2 separate regions of the Homo sapiens genome follow, and region 1 is linked to region 2. The links are contacts of gene promoters, found by promoter capture Hi-C in human tissues and cell types (Jung and others, 2019). All regions are on one chromosome and are shown on one strand. The core of a region is centred on a gene start or on the middle of the fragment in contact, and the rest is flanking DNA. Distances in the headings are between cores, read along the strand shown.

The links. The method cuts DNA at HindIII sites, captures the fragments that hold promoters and counts their contacts. A contact is called where the count stands out against the background at its distance.
Region 1: a fragment that was not itself captured here is called in contact with the fragment with the promoter of ZNRF4 in region 2 in 2 of the 25 tissues and cell types used here (IMR-90 fibroblasts and mesendoderm cells).

Annotation. Positions count from the first base shown.
Region 1 is chr19:5,551,990-5,558,374 of GRCh38, forward strand. It overlaps TINCR (TINCR ubiquitin domain containing), which reads right to left. Exons shown (of 3, transcript NM_001396408.1): 3 at 6,178-6,385. Among named protein-coding and RNA genes, the nearest start is that of TINCR, 13 kb to the right of the region's middle. The HindIII fragment of the contact is 4,976 bases long and covers 1-4,570 here.
Region 2 is chr19:5,451,463-5,457,272 of GRCh38, forward strand. ZNRF4 (zinc and ring finger 4) reads left to right here and starts at 3,955. Exons shown (of 1, transcript NM_181710.4): 1 at 3,955-5,394. The coding sequence starts at 4,030. The coding sequence ends at 5,319. The HindIII fragment of the contact is 14,927 bases long and covers 2,701-5,810 here.

The DNA.
Region 1 (6,385 bases), core at 833-3,332, 99 kb after region 2:
ACTCCTTTCCTTCCTAGGCATGGTTAGCGTGGTCGGAATTCTTACACAAGAGCCAGGACCACACCCTGTAGCCTTTCTGTCCAAACAACTTGACCTTACTGTTTTAACCTAGCCCTCATGTCTGCGTGCAGCGGCTGCTGCTGCTTTAATACTTTTAGAGGCCCTCAAAATCACAAACTTTATCAGTCCTCCAGGCCCAAGTTGACTCTTTAGCTGCAGTTGTCCTCCAAAACCACCGAGGCCTTGACTGACTTACTGCTGAAAAAGGAGGACTCTGCATATTCTTAAATGAGGAGTGTTGTTTTTACCTAAATCAATCTGGCCTGGTGTATGACAACATAAAAAAACTCAAGGATAGAGCCCAAAAACTTGCCAACCAAGAAAGTAATTACGCTGAACCCCCTTGGGCACTCTCTAATTGGATGTCCTGGGCCCTCCCAATTCTTAGTCCTTTAATACCCATTTTTCTCCTCCTTTTCTTCAGACCTTCTATCTTCCGTTTAGCTTCTCAGTTCATTGAAAACCGTATCCAGGCCATCACCAATCATTCTATACGACAAATGTTTCTTCTAACATCCCCACAATATCACCCCTTACCACAAGACCTCCCTTCAGCTTAATCTCTCCCACTCTAGGTTCCCACGCCGCCCCTAATCCCGCTCGAAGCAGCCCTGAGAAACATCGCCCGTTCTCTCTCCATACCACCCCCCAAAAATTTTCGCCGCTGCAACACTTCAACACTATTTTGTTTTATTTGTCTTATTAATATAAGAAGGCAGGAATGTCAGGCCTCTGAGCCCAGGCCAGGTCATCGCATCCCCTGTGACTTGCACGTATACATCCAGATGGCCTGAAGTAACTGCAGATCCACAAAAGAAGTAAAAACAGCCTTAACTGGTGATATTCCACCATTGTGATTTGTTCCTGCCCCACCCTAACTGATCAATGTACTTTGTAGTCTCCCCCACCCTTAAGAAGGTTCTTTGTAATTCTCCCCACTCTTGAGAATGTACTTTGTGAGATCCACCCCTGCCCACCAGAGAACAACCCCCTTTGACTGTAATTTTCCATTACCTTCCCAAATCCTATAAAACGGCCCCACCCCTATCTCCCTTCGCTGACTCTCTTTTCGGACTCAGCCGGCCTGCACCCAGGTGAAATAAACAGCCATGCTGCTCACACAAAGCCTGTTTGGTGGTCTCTTCACATGGACACGCATGAAACCTACTGTGTACTTTGCTTTCTTTGCTCTTGGTGATTCCCCAAAAAACTTATCTCAACATATAAGGATTTTTCTTTTCTTTTTTTTTTTTTGTTTGAGACGGAGTCTCGCTCTGTCGCCCAGGCTGGAGTACAGCGGCGCGATCTCGGCTCACTGCAAGCTCCGCCTCCCGGGTTCACGCCATTCTCCTGCCTCAGCCTCCGGAGTAGCTGGGACTACAGGCGCCCGCTGCCACGCCCGGCTAATTTTTTTGTATTTTTAGTAGAGATGGGTTTCACCGTGTTAGCCATAATGGTCTCAATCTCCTGACCTCATGATCCGCCTGCCTTGGCCTCCCAAAGTGCTGGGATTACAGGCGTGAGCCACCGCGCCCGGCTGTTTTTTTTTTTTTTTACTTGCCTTTTTCCAAATGAGAAAACCAAGGCTCAGAGAGGTCAGTGGTGCAATCTCGGCTCACAGCAACTTCCGCCTCCCGGGTTCAAGGGATTCTAGTGCCTCAGCCTCCCAAGTACCTGGGATCACAGGCATCCGCCATCACACCCAGCTAATTTTTGTATTTTTAGTAGAGACAGGGTTTCGCCATGTTGTCCAGGCTGGTCTCGAGCTCATGACCTCAGGTGATCCGCCCACCTTGGCATCCCAAACTGCTGGGGTAGGATTTTCTTTTTTACTTCCCTTTTTCCAAATGAGAAAACCAAGGCTCAGAGAGGAAGAGCGTGTTGCCCCAAGTGGCCCAGCAGAGCCACAGCCTTGCCCCCAGCAGCTCTGGCTCTAATGCATTCCAGACTCCTCCCATCAGCCAACTGCCTCCCATCCTCTAATAAACTTCTGAGAAGCGCTGGGCAGATGCAGTGGCGCCCACGCTCTTTATCTGCCCAGATCAGGCCGGCTCAGCAGAGCAGTCGATAATTAATTCTGAATTCTCCCCATTTATCACGGCGGCAGGAGCCAGAGTGCCTGGAATCCCAATCCCAAACCTCCGTGCCCCTTGGTCACCTGGACCAAGGCCCAGTGGTGGCAGGAACTATGGTGGAGAGGGGGCCTCATTGAGCCTGGGAAGGGAGCAAAGGTGTTCCTGGCTCCCCACCGCTCCCTGGCGCTGGGTTATTAAACGCTGTGTACTGCAGCAGTGACCAAACCAGACCTCTTCCCCGTCTTCATGGTGCCCACAGGCTAGTGGGGAAAACATACATTGAATGAATAATAATATAAATAATTAATGCTACAAAGGAAAAGAACAAGATGTTGTGAGAATACAAAACAACAGGAACATAACTTGTTTTGGGGGCCTCCCCAAGGAAGTGACATTGAACCTGCAAATCACAGGGTGAAAGGTGAAAGGTTGGGAGAGGGTATTTCATATACAGAAATAGCCCATGCAGGCTGGGTGCGGTGGCTCACAGCACTTTGGGAGGCCAAGGCGGGCGGATCACCTGAGGTCAGGAGTTGAAGACCAGCCTGGCCAACATGGTGAAACCCCGTCTCTACTAAAAATACAAAAATTAGCAGGGCATGGCGATGTGTGCCTGTAGTCCCAGCTACTCAGGAGGCTGAGACAGGATTCTCACCTCCTGGTTCGCTTGAACCCAGGAGGTGGAGGTTGCAGTGAGCTAAGATAGCGCCATTGCACTCCAGCCTGGGCAACAGAGCTAGACTCTGTCTCAAAAAAAGAAAAAAAAGAAAGAAAAGAAAAGAAATAGCCTGTGAAAAAAACCTTGTGGCTGGAGCCCAGCAAGGGGTTTAGTAGGTCTGAAGCTTAAAGCACAAGTGTGAGGTCAGTGCCAAGTCAGGGGACCTCAGGGCCAGGCCTGGAGCCCTCATAGTGAGGCCAGCAGCCTTCAGTGGATAGCCAGGGGCCACCAAGGAAAGAGATGGATAAGTTTCCGTGATGCTCCAAGGGGTGGTAGTGAGGCTGCTTCTGCCCCAGGTGCATCACCCTGCAAGGTCAGTGGTCGGCTCTGTGTTGTTTTTTTTTTTTTTTTTTGGTTTGTTTGTTTTTGAGACGGAGTCTCGCTCTGTTGCCAGGCTGGAGTGCGGTGGCGTGATCTTGGCTCACTGCAACCTCCGCCTCTCGGGTTCAAGCAATTCTGCCTCAGCCTCCCAAGTAGCTAGGACTACAGGCGCCTGCCACCACGCCTGGCTAATTTTTATATTTTTAGTAGAGACAGGGTTTAACCATGTCGGCCAGAATAGTCTCGATCTCTTGACTTCGTGATCTGCCCGCCTCAGCCTCCCAAAGTGCTGGGATTACAGGAGTGAGCCACTGCGCCTGGCCGGGTTTTTTTTTCTTTCTTATGACTGTTTTCCTTTTTGAGGGTTCTTTCAAATCCATTTGGGCACGGGGGTTAGTCAGGATTTGTCTGCCAGCAAACACCGAATGCCTGGCTATCCCAAACACTTCCCTTCTTGGGCAGGCAGGGAAACTGAGGCCCAGCGAGGGACAAAGAACACCCAAGGTCATTCAGAGGAAGGTTGTGTGTGGGAGAGGTTTCTGGGGAGTCTCAGGGGCCATGCGCTTGCCCTGCAGCTTCTGTGGCTTTTGTTGGGCCGTGAACTCCGTGGGGAGCTTGACTGGGTATCCTAGTCACCACGCTGTCCTCAGAGCCCTGCAAACTGGAGGTGCTTAATCAGTGATTGTGGAATGCATGATCCCAGCAGCTTCTGAAGACACCCCAGAGGTCATGCTTACGATATTGGAAGGAAAGGGGGTCTTTTTTTCTTTTTCTTTTTTTTTGAGATGGAGTCTTGCTCTGTTACTCAGGCTGGAGTGCAGTGGCACAATCTCGGCTCACTGCAAGCTCCGCCTCCCGGGTTCACGCCATTCTCCTGCCTTAGCCTCCCAAGTAGCTGGGACTACAGGTGTGCACCACCACCACGCCTGGCTATTTTTTTGTATTTTTAGTAGAGACAGGGTTTTGCCATGTTGCCCATGTCCAGGCTGGTCTCGAACTCCTAGCCTCCAGCAATCCTCTAGCCTTGACCTCCTAAAGTGCTAGGATTACAGGCATGAGCCACTGTGCCCAGCCAACTAATGTTTTCATTATTTATTTTTTAAATTTTAATGTTATATTTCTTAATTTTTTATTTTATTTTTATTTATTTATTTATTTATTTTTGAGATGGAGTCTTGCTCTGTCGCCCAGGCTGGAGTGTAGTGGCGCAATCTCGGCCCACTGCAAGCTCCACCTCCCGGGTTCACGCCATTCTCCTGCCTCAGCCTCTCGAGTAGCTGGGACTACAGGCACCCGCCACCACACCCAGCTAATTTTTCACTGTGTTAGCCAGGATGGTCTCAATCTCCTGACCTCGTGATCCGCCCGCCTCAGCCTCCCAAAGTGAGCCACCGCGCCCAGCCTATTTTTTCTTTTTTTTTTTTTTTCTAGAGACAGGGTCTCGTTCTGTCACCCAGTCTGGAGTGCAGTGGTATGGTTATAGCTCACCGTGGTCTCAAACTCCTGGGCTCAAGTGATCCTCCTGCCTCAGCCTCCCAAGTAGCTGGGACCACAGGGGCATGCCACCACACCTGGATAATTTTTAAATGCTTTTGTAAAGGCTGGGTCTCGCCATGTTTCCCAGGCTGGTTTCGAACTCCTAGGTTCAAGCAATCCTCCTGCCTCGGTCTCCCAAAGTGTTGGGATTATAGTCATGAGCCACTGAGCCTGGCCTAGGGAAAGAGGGGTCTTTTTCAATAGGAGATTTGAGAAAAAAATACAGAGACATGGAGAGAGACAGAGACTGAGATGCAGACGAACTGAGAAACGCAGAGAGAGAGATATTGAAGAGAGGGAGAGATAACGAGATACAAACAGAACCACAGACAGAAATGGAGCGACAGAGAGCAGATGAAAAAGAGGCCGGGCGCAGTGGCTGATGCCTGCAATCCCAGCACTTCGGGTGGCCGAGACGGGTAGATGGCTTGAGCCCAGGAGTTTGAGAACAGCCTGGGCAACATGGCGAAACCCCATCTCTACAAAAATTTAAAAATTAGCTGGGTGTGGTGGCGTGTGCCTAAAATCCCAGCTACTCAAGAGCCTGAGGCGGGAGGATCGCTTGAGCTGGGGAGGTTGAGGCTGCAGTGATCTGTGATTGTGCCACCGCACTCCAGCCTGGACAACAGAACAAGACCCTGTCTCAACAAAAATAAAATAAGAGACTGAGACACAGAGACAGATGAAGGGAGAGGAGAGAGAGAGAAAGAAAGATGGCAAGGTCAGAACCAGCACTAACTTGTATGGGAGCTGTTGGATGAATTACAAAGAAGGGCCCCTTCCTGGGGCCCTCTCACCTCTGCAGCTGGGTCCTCTTGTGCAGTGAACAACCTGCCCCACTGTCTGTGGCAGCCGGAGCAGCATCTGTCTTTATATCTCTCATTGAATGAATGCTCAGAGTTAGGAGAATGCCAGAGCCCAGCCTGGAGTCGCACAGAAAGAGAACAGAGAGATAGAGGCAGGGCAGGAAGGAAGTGGCAATTCCAGGTCCTGGCAGTTTCTGGCTAAACCGCTGACATCTCCTCTGGGAACCGCCTGGGCTCACTTGCCCCCTAGGAGAATTCCCTTGGACCTTCTTGGAGCACAAACTAGGTGGGCGGCCAAGACGGGAGGTGGCCCCTCCCCAGAACGCCGCGGGCCTTAGCGAGACGGCAGCTGCCAAGTCTCACCCGAAACTCCTCATAGCCCAGACTTGCTCAGGGTGGAGCCCAGAGTCTGAGAGGCCCTGGCGGGGAGCGAGCAGGATTCCCTGAGTTTCACAGCCCAGATATGGGAGGGGGCTGGCCTGGGGTCAACTGGAGTAACAGTGTCACCTGGAGTAACAGCGTCACCTGGAGTAACAGCATGTGCAAAGGCCTGGAGGGGAGTGAGAGGAAGGTAGAAGTAGAGCTCAGCCCAAAACCATAGATGGGGTAGAATGAAGCCCAAGAGAGCTCCAAGGCCAAGTTAGGAAGCTTAAACTCAATCTTGTTTTCAAACATGTAATCTTTTATTCAGTACACTCTCAAAACAGCATTTCTGTATCTAGTTCCAAGCTGGGTGATCCTGCGGCCCCAAAGGTAGTGATGACTCTGCTGGGAGGAGACACAGACCTCCCAGTTCAGTGGATCCCGAGTGAGTCAGAAGGTGAGACTGGAAGCAGCAGGGTCCTTGAGGGAAGTAGGCTCTCCTTGAA
Region 2 (5,810 bases), core at 2,705-5,204:
CAGGGGGTCAGCGGAGTTTCCCGCAAGGCACGGTCACAGGCTGCAGGCTGCATTGCTCAGTGGCAGTGCTGGTGGCTCCTGCCATCCCCGAGTGCCCCCCTCCTCTGGGGCTCAGTTTCCCCATTTGGCCACACTCCCCCTTAGACAAACACAGACGGGGCGCCACCTGGCTGGGCAGGAGGGGGCCTCGGCAGCTTCTCACGAAGAACAGCAGCCAAGGTGGGGGCTGGCGGGGCTGGCACAGGCCGGCCTCGTTAAGCTGCCAGTCCTTGGCACCACTCTGCTTTCGTGGAGGCGTCTGGAGAAGGGCCCAGGCCTGGCTGTTGGGGGACTGAGGAAGCTGGGATGAAGCTGAGACCCTTTTTCAGAGGGGGCAGGCCCTGAGTGATGGCAAGGAGTTCTATGTTCACTTATTAAGCATCTACTGGATGCCAGACCAGGCTACTCAGGCAGGGCGTTTGCCCGTGCTGTTCTAGCTGCCAGGATCGCGTTTCCTGTTCATAGCACTATCCACTGCTCATTCTGATCTCAGTCTAGAAGACACCACCTCCAGGAAGCCTTCTAGATTCTCTAGAATAAGCCAGGTGCGGCCGGGCGCGGTGGCTCATGCCTGTAATCCCAGCACTTTGGGAGGCCGATGCGGGCGGATCACGAGGTCAGGAGATCGAGACCATCCTGGCTAATGCAGTGAAACCCCGTCTCTACTAAAAATACAAAAAATTAGCCGGGCATGGTGGTGGGCGCCTGTAGTCCCAGCTACTCGGGAGGCTGAGGCAGGAGAATGCCGTGAACCTGGGAGGCAGAGCTTGCAGGGAGCTGAGATGGTGCCACTGCACTCCAGCCTGGGCGACACAGCGAGACTCCGTCTCAAAAAAAAAAAAAAAAAAAAGAATAAGCCAGGTGCCTCCCTTTGGGTTGGCACGGTGCCTGAGTTTTCCCCATCACAGTTTGATCACTCAATATTTTATTTTTAGAGGTGGGGTCTTGCTCTGTGGCCCGCTGCTGGAGTGCCACAGCATGATCAGAGCTCACTGCAGCCTCAAACTCCCAGGCTCAAGCGATGTTCCCGCTTCAGCCTCCCGAGTAGCTGTGATCACCCAATATTATAACTGGGCTGTGGGCAGGTCACTTAGGCCATCAACAAATGCAAACAGAGCACTTCGTACGTGGTAGGCACTATGCTTAGCACCGTCCATGCTCAGCGAACCCCGCAGTGCAGGTGCTGATGCTGCCTCCTCTTTACAGAAGGGGCAACTGAGGCTCACAGTGGCTGAATGGTGGAGTGAAGCCACATGGCCTGGAGTCTGGTGCACAGAAGGGCCCGGGAAAAGCTCATTTCCATCCCCAGGGACAGTGAGCTCACTCACCACTGAAGGAGGCCTAAGCTGGAGGTGTGGGGATTCATTCATTCAACAAATATGTATTGGGCAGCCATTGAAGGCCAGGTTACTCAAGTGTGTCCGAGTGACAGGTGGTGTTGGACGCCTCCAACATCTGTTGTCTTGTCCTCCATAGTAATAGAAGCCCTGGTTTTCAGCTGCACAGTTGGCCATTCAGAATAAATACTACATTTCCCAGCAAGCTTTCTGCCAGGCATGGCCACGTGACTAATTCTGGCCAATGCAGTGTGAGCAGAAGTGGTGCCTGGGATTTCCAAGAAGTGTCCTTAAAGGGACAGGGTGAGCTCTTCCTCACTCTTTCCTCCTCATTGCCTGGGAGGCAGATGTGATGGCTGGAGCTCACGCACCTGCCTTGTCCCACGAGGAGGAGGCCATTTACTGAGGATATGGTGGATGGAAGGAGTCTGGGCTGCAGACACCCCAGCATCTCCATGCCATCCCAGGAATGACTACTCACATTCCACATTCAGAAGCAAATCAGCCCTGTACGCCTACACCGCTGTGGTTGGGTCTTGCTTACCACAGCCAACCCGAGCCTGACCGCTACATTTGTCCCTCTCTGCTTCTGTTTTTCCACTCTTGCCTCCTCTCATGCCTGCTGGACTGAAAAACCTGCCTCTGCTTGGTAGCACTGGGCTGCAAGGGCCATCCACAGTGGCCAAGGCAGTGGCCTCTAGATAGTGTGGCCTCCGTCTGTGGCAGTAGACAGAGCAGGGGCAGGAGTGCCACCAGGGGCCGGGCATGGTGGCTCACAAATGTAACCCCAGCACTTTGGGAGGCTGAGACTGGCAGATCACTTGAGGTCAGGAGTTCGAGACAAGCCTGGGCAACCTAGCAAAACCCCCGTTTCTATTAAGATACAAAAATTAGCCGGGCATGGCAGCATGTGCTCGTGGCCTCAACTGATCTGCCCGCCTCGGGCTCCTAAAGTGCTAGGATTACGGACATGAGCCACCATGCCCGGCCTTTTCTCCCTTTCTTAGAAGGAAAACCTCTGCAAAGATCTTATTTCCAAATAAGGTCCATTCACAGGGGTTGGTCAGAACCAGGGGTTAGGGGTTCAACATCTCTATTTGGGGCCCACCCACTACATGGTACAAGAGATTTGTGTGGGAGGTGATCTCAGAAGCTGTGGGAGGGGAGAGAAGTGGGTGGGGAAGGGAAGGAGACAGTAGCGGGCTCATTGACAAGACAGTACTGGGTTCGTTGACTTATGGAGCTCATTCGACTGGGGACCTCTAGGAGATATGGTAGAACATACTTCGATTTGTCCCATAAGAGGGACGAGGGAGTGGGGGCATTTATCTACCACCTCCCATCTGTCACTGGCTGAGGGCTGCTCTGAGAGGTATTAGGCCAACACAGAAAATCTAAAGACTAAGTAGTCAGCCTGGCAAAGTGAAGTTGAGGAGCAAGAATTCTGTTCCAGGCAGAGGGAACAGCATTTGCAAAATTCTAGAGGTGAACAAAGCAAGATGCCTCTGGGACATTGCAAATCATCCAGGCTTCAGAGATTGGCAGGCGCCCAACCACAGGGGTGCATGTAGGCCACAGAGAAGAGTGTGGGCTTTATCTGGAGGGCAATGGGGAGCCATGGGAGAGTTTAGAGCATGGGAAAGACTATGTTACAGGTCTGGAAGCTGAGGCCCAGAGAGGCTAAGGAATTTAGCTGATGTCATACAGCTTATGAATGGCAGAGACAGAAATCCGACTTGAGTGGGCTGCAGACAGATTGAGGGTGTGAAATTTGGGGGATGGGGACTGGGGAGGAGGTGAGGCTGATGCCCAGGGCTGAAGCTCAGGCAGGGGGCACAGTTGGAGACCCAGCTGGAGAGGCAATGCTATAGGGAGAGAGAATGAAGCTGGTGCAAGCCTGGAGGCCAACCTGGCGGTGCGGACTTGGGACCACTGACCCCCACCAGCCCCACCCTGACCCTGGCACTTGACTCTCCCTCCAAATCAAGTCCAGGAGGGCTCTGAGGATATATGGACTCAGACCTGAGTCCGGATAAAAGAGCCAGCTACGGAGAGAAAGGGCTTTCCAGGCAGGAGGCCCAGCCCATGCAAAGGCCCTGGGGCAGGATCCTGCCTGGTGTGTTGGAGGAACAGCAAGGAGATCTGTGTGGCTGGAGCAGAGTGAGGGATGGTGACAGGGGGTCAGGAATTTGGGTTTTAAGCACTGATCTCATTGTAGGGGGGCGTGGCTTGAACAAGTCTGGGTCACTCTTGGAGTCTCAGACAAGGGTAACATTGAACCTTCTACAGTGTGTTGCTAGGAACCTCCAGAAGCTGATGCTGGTAGCGTCTTCGCACAGTGAGGGCTGAATCTGCACTGCTGGGGGCCGGCAGCCCTTTTGAAGCATCCCTGGGCCTCCTTGGGTCCAAAGATACCCTGAGCCTTCAAGAAGTTATCTCAAAGCTTGCCCGGGTACCGGCAAATCACAGACCTAGGAATGATCCATTGGCCACAGGCCCAGGCAGCTGGCAGCTCCTGGGACAGAATGTAGCAGGGCGATGTCACAGAAGCTGGGGGCATCTAGAACCCTGGTGACTCCTGGTCTCCATGTCATCTGCCAGAAAGGCCACCTGCGCCAGCACCTCCTGAGACCGGCCTTCAAAGACACGACGCATGCCGCTCTGCCGTCCGGAGCACTTAATGCCTAGAGCCAGCAGGGTCCCAGTGGCCGCGTCACTGCCTCTGAGCCACGCGGTCATTCCAACTCAACTGCCCTCGCGTCCTGGCCACAGGCCCCCTGGGAGACCCCGGAGATGCCCAAAGGCCTCATGCCTGCCGCCTCCAGTGGGACCTAGCAGCACACAGACAGCGAAGCGGGTGACCATGGGGTGGCCACGGCCGGGCCGAGCCCTCGTGGCAGTCAAAGCCTTGCTGGTCTTGTCGCTGCTCCAGGTGCCCGCGCAGGCAGTGGTACGGGCCGTGCTGGAAGACAACTCGAGCTCGGTGGACTTTGCGGATCTGCCGGCGCTGTTCGGCGTCCCCCTGGCCCCCGAGGGCATACGGGGCTACCTGATGGAGGTCAAGCCAGCCAACGCGTGCCATCCCATCGAGGCCCCGCGACTGGGCAACCGCTCTCTGGGCGCCATCGTGCTGATCCGCCGCTACGACTGCACCTTCGACCTCAAGGTGCTGAACGCCCAGCGCGCCGGCTTCGAGGCGGCCATCGTGCACAACGTCCACTCCGACGACCTCGTGAGCATGACCCACGTCTACGAGGACTTGAGGGGCCAGATCGCCATCCCCTCAGTGTTCGTGAGCGAGGCCGCCTCGCAGGACCTGCGGGTCATCCTGGGCTGCAACAAGTCGGCCCACGCGCTGCTCCTGCCCGACGACCCACCGTGCCACGACCTGGGCTGTCACCCCGTGCTGACCGTGTCCTGGGTGCTGGGCTGTACCCTGGCCCTGGTCGTATCAGCCTTCTTTGTCCTGAACCACCTGTGGCTCTGGGCCCAGGCCTGCTGCAGCCACAGACGGCCGGTGAAGACGTCTACCTGCCAGAAGGCCCAGGTCCGCACCTTCACGTGGCACAACGACCTGTGTGCCATCTGCCTGGATGAGTATGAGGAGGGCGACCAACTCAAGATCCTGCCCTGCTCCCACACCTACCACTGCAAATGCATTGACCCCTGGTTCTCCCAAGCCCCCCGGCGCTCCTGCCCCGTGTGCAAACAGTCGGTGGCCGCCACAGAAGACAGCTTTGACTCCACCACCTACAGCTTCAGGGACGAGGACCCCTCCCTACCGGGCCACCGGCCCCCCATCTGGGCCATTCAAGTCCAGCTACGCTCCCGGAGGCTGGAGCTGCTGGGCCGCGCCAGTCCCCACTGCCACTGCAGCACCACGTCCCTGGAGGCAGAGTATACCACTGTCTCCTCAGCCCCTCCTGAGGCCCCTGGTCAGTAAAGATCTAGGGCAGGGAGGGGGGTGCAATGAGGAATGTTTCTGGTCTGAAAAGAATAAAGTGGGTTTGAAAGCGGATTCTCAGCCTCGCTGCTGTTGGGCCACCCGCCTCTGACTGGGGTTGGGGGACACCCATCCCCATCAAGCCTAAGGCCAATCCCCGTTTCTGCGGGCGGGAGAGCGAGGGGTGGTGAGGGCTGGGGGGCCTTTTTGGGGCGGCTGTGACCGTGGTGCCGGAGTGGCTTTGAGACGGGTCGTCTGTGCTTTGGTTCCAGTCCCGGGCACACGGGTCACTCATCCTGGATGGCCTTATTCTTCATTCACATTTTTTCTTTTAAAATAAACGTTTTATTTTGGAACTGGTTTAGATTTCCAGAAAAGTTGCAAAGGTGCCATAGAGTTCTCCAACCCCTTTTACTCCGTTTCCTCTTATGTCTCATGGGATCCCAGGTGTGATGGGATGGGAGGCCGAGGTGGGAGGTTCGCTCAAGGTT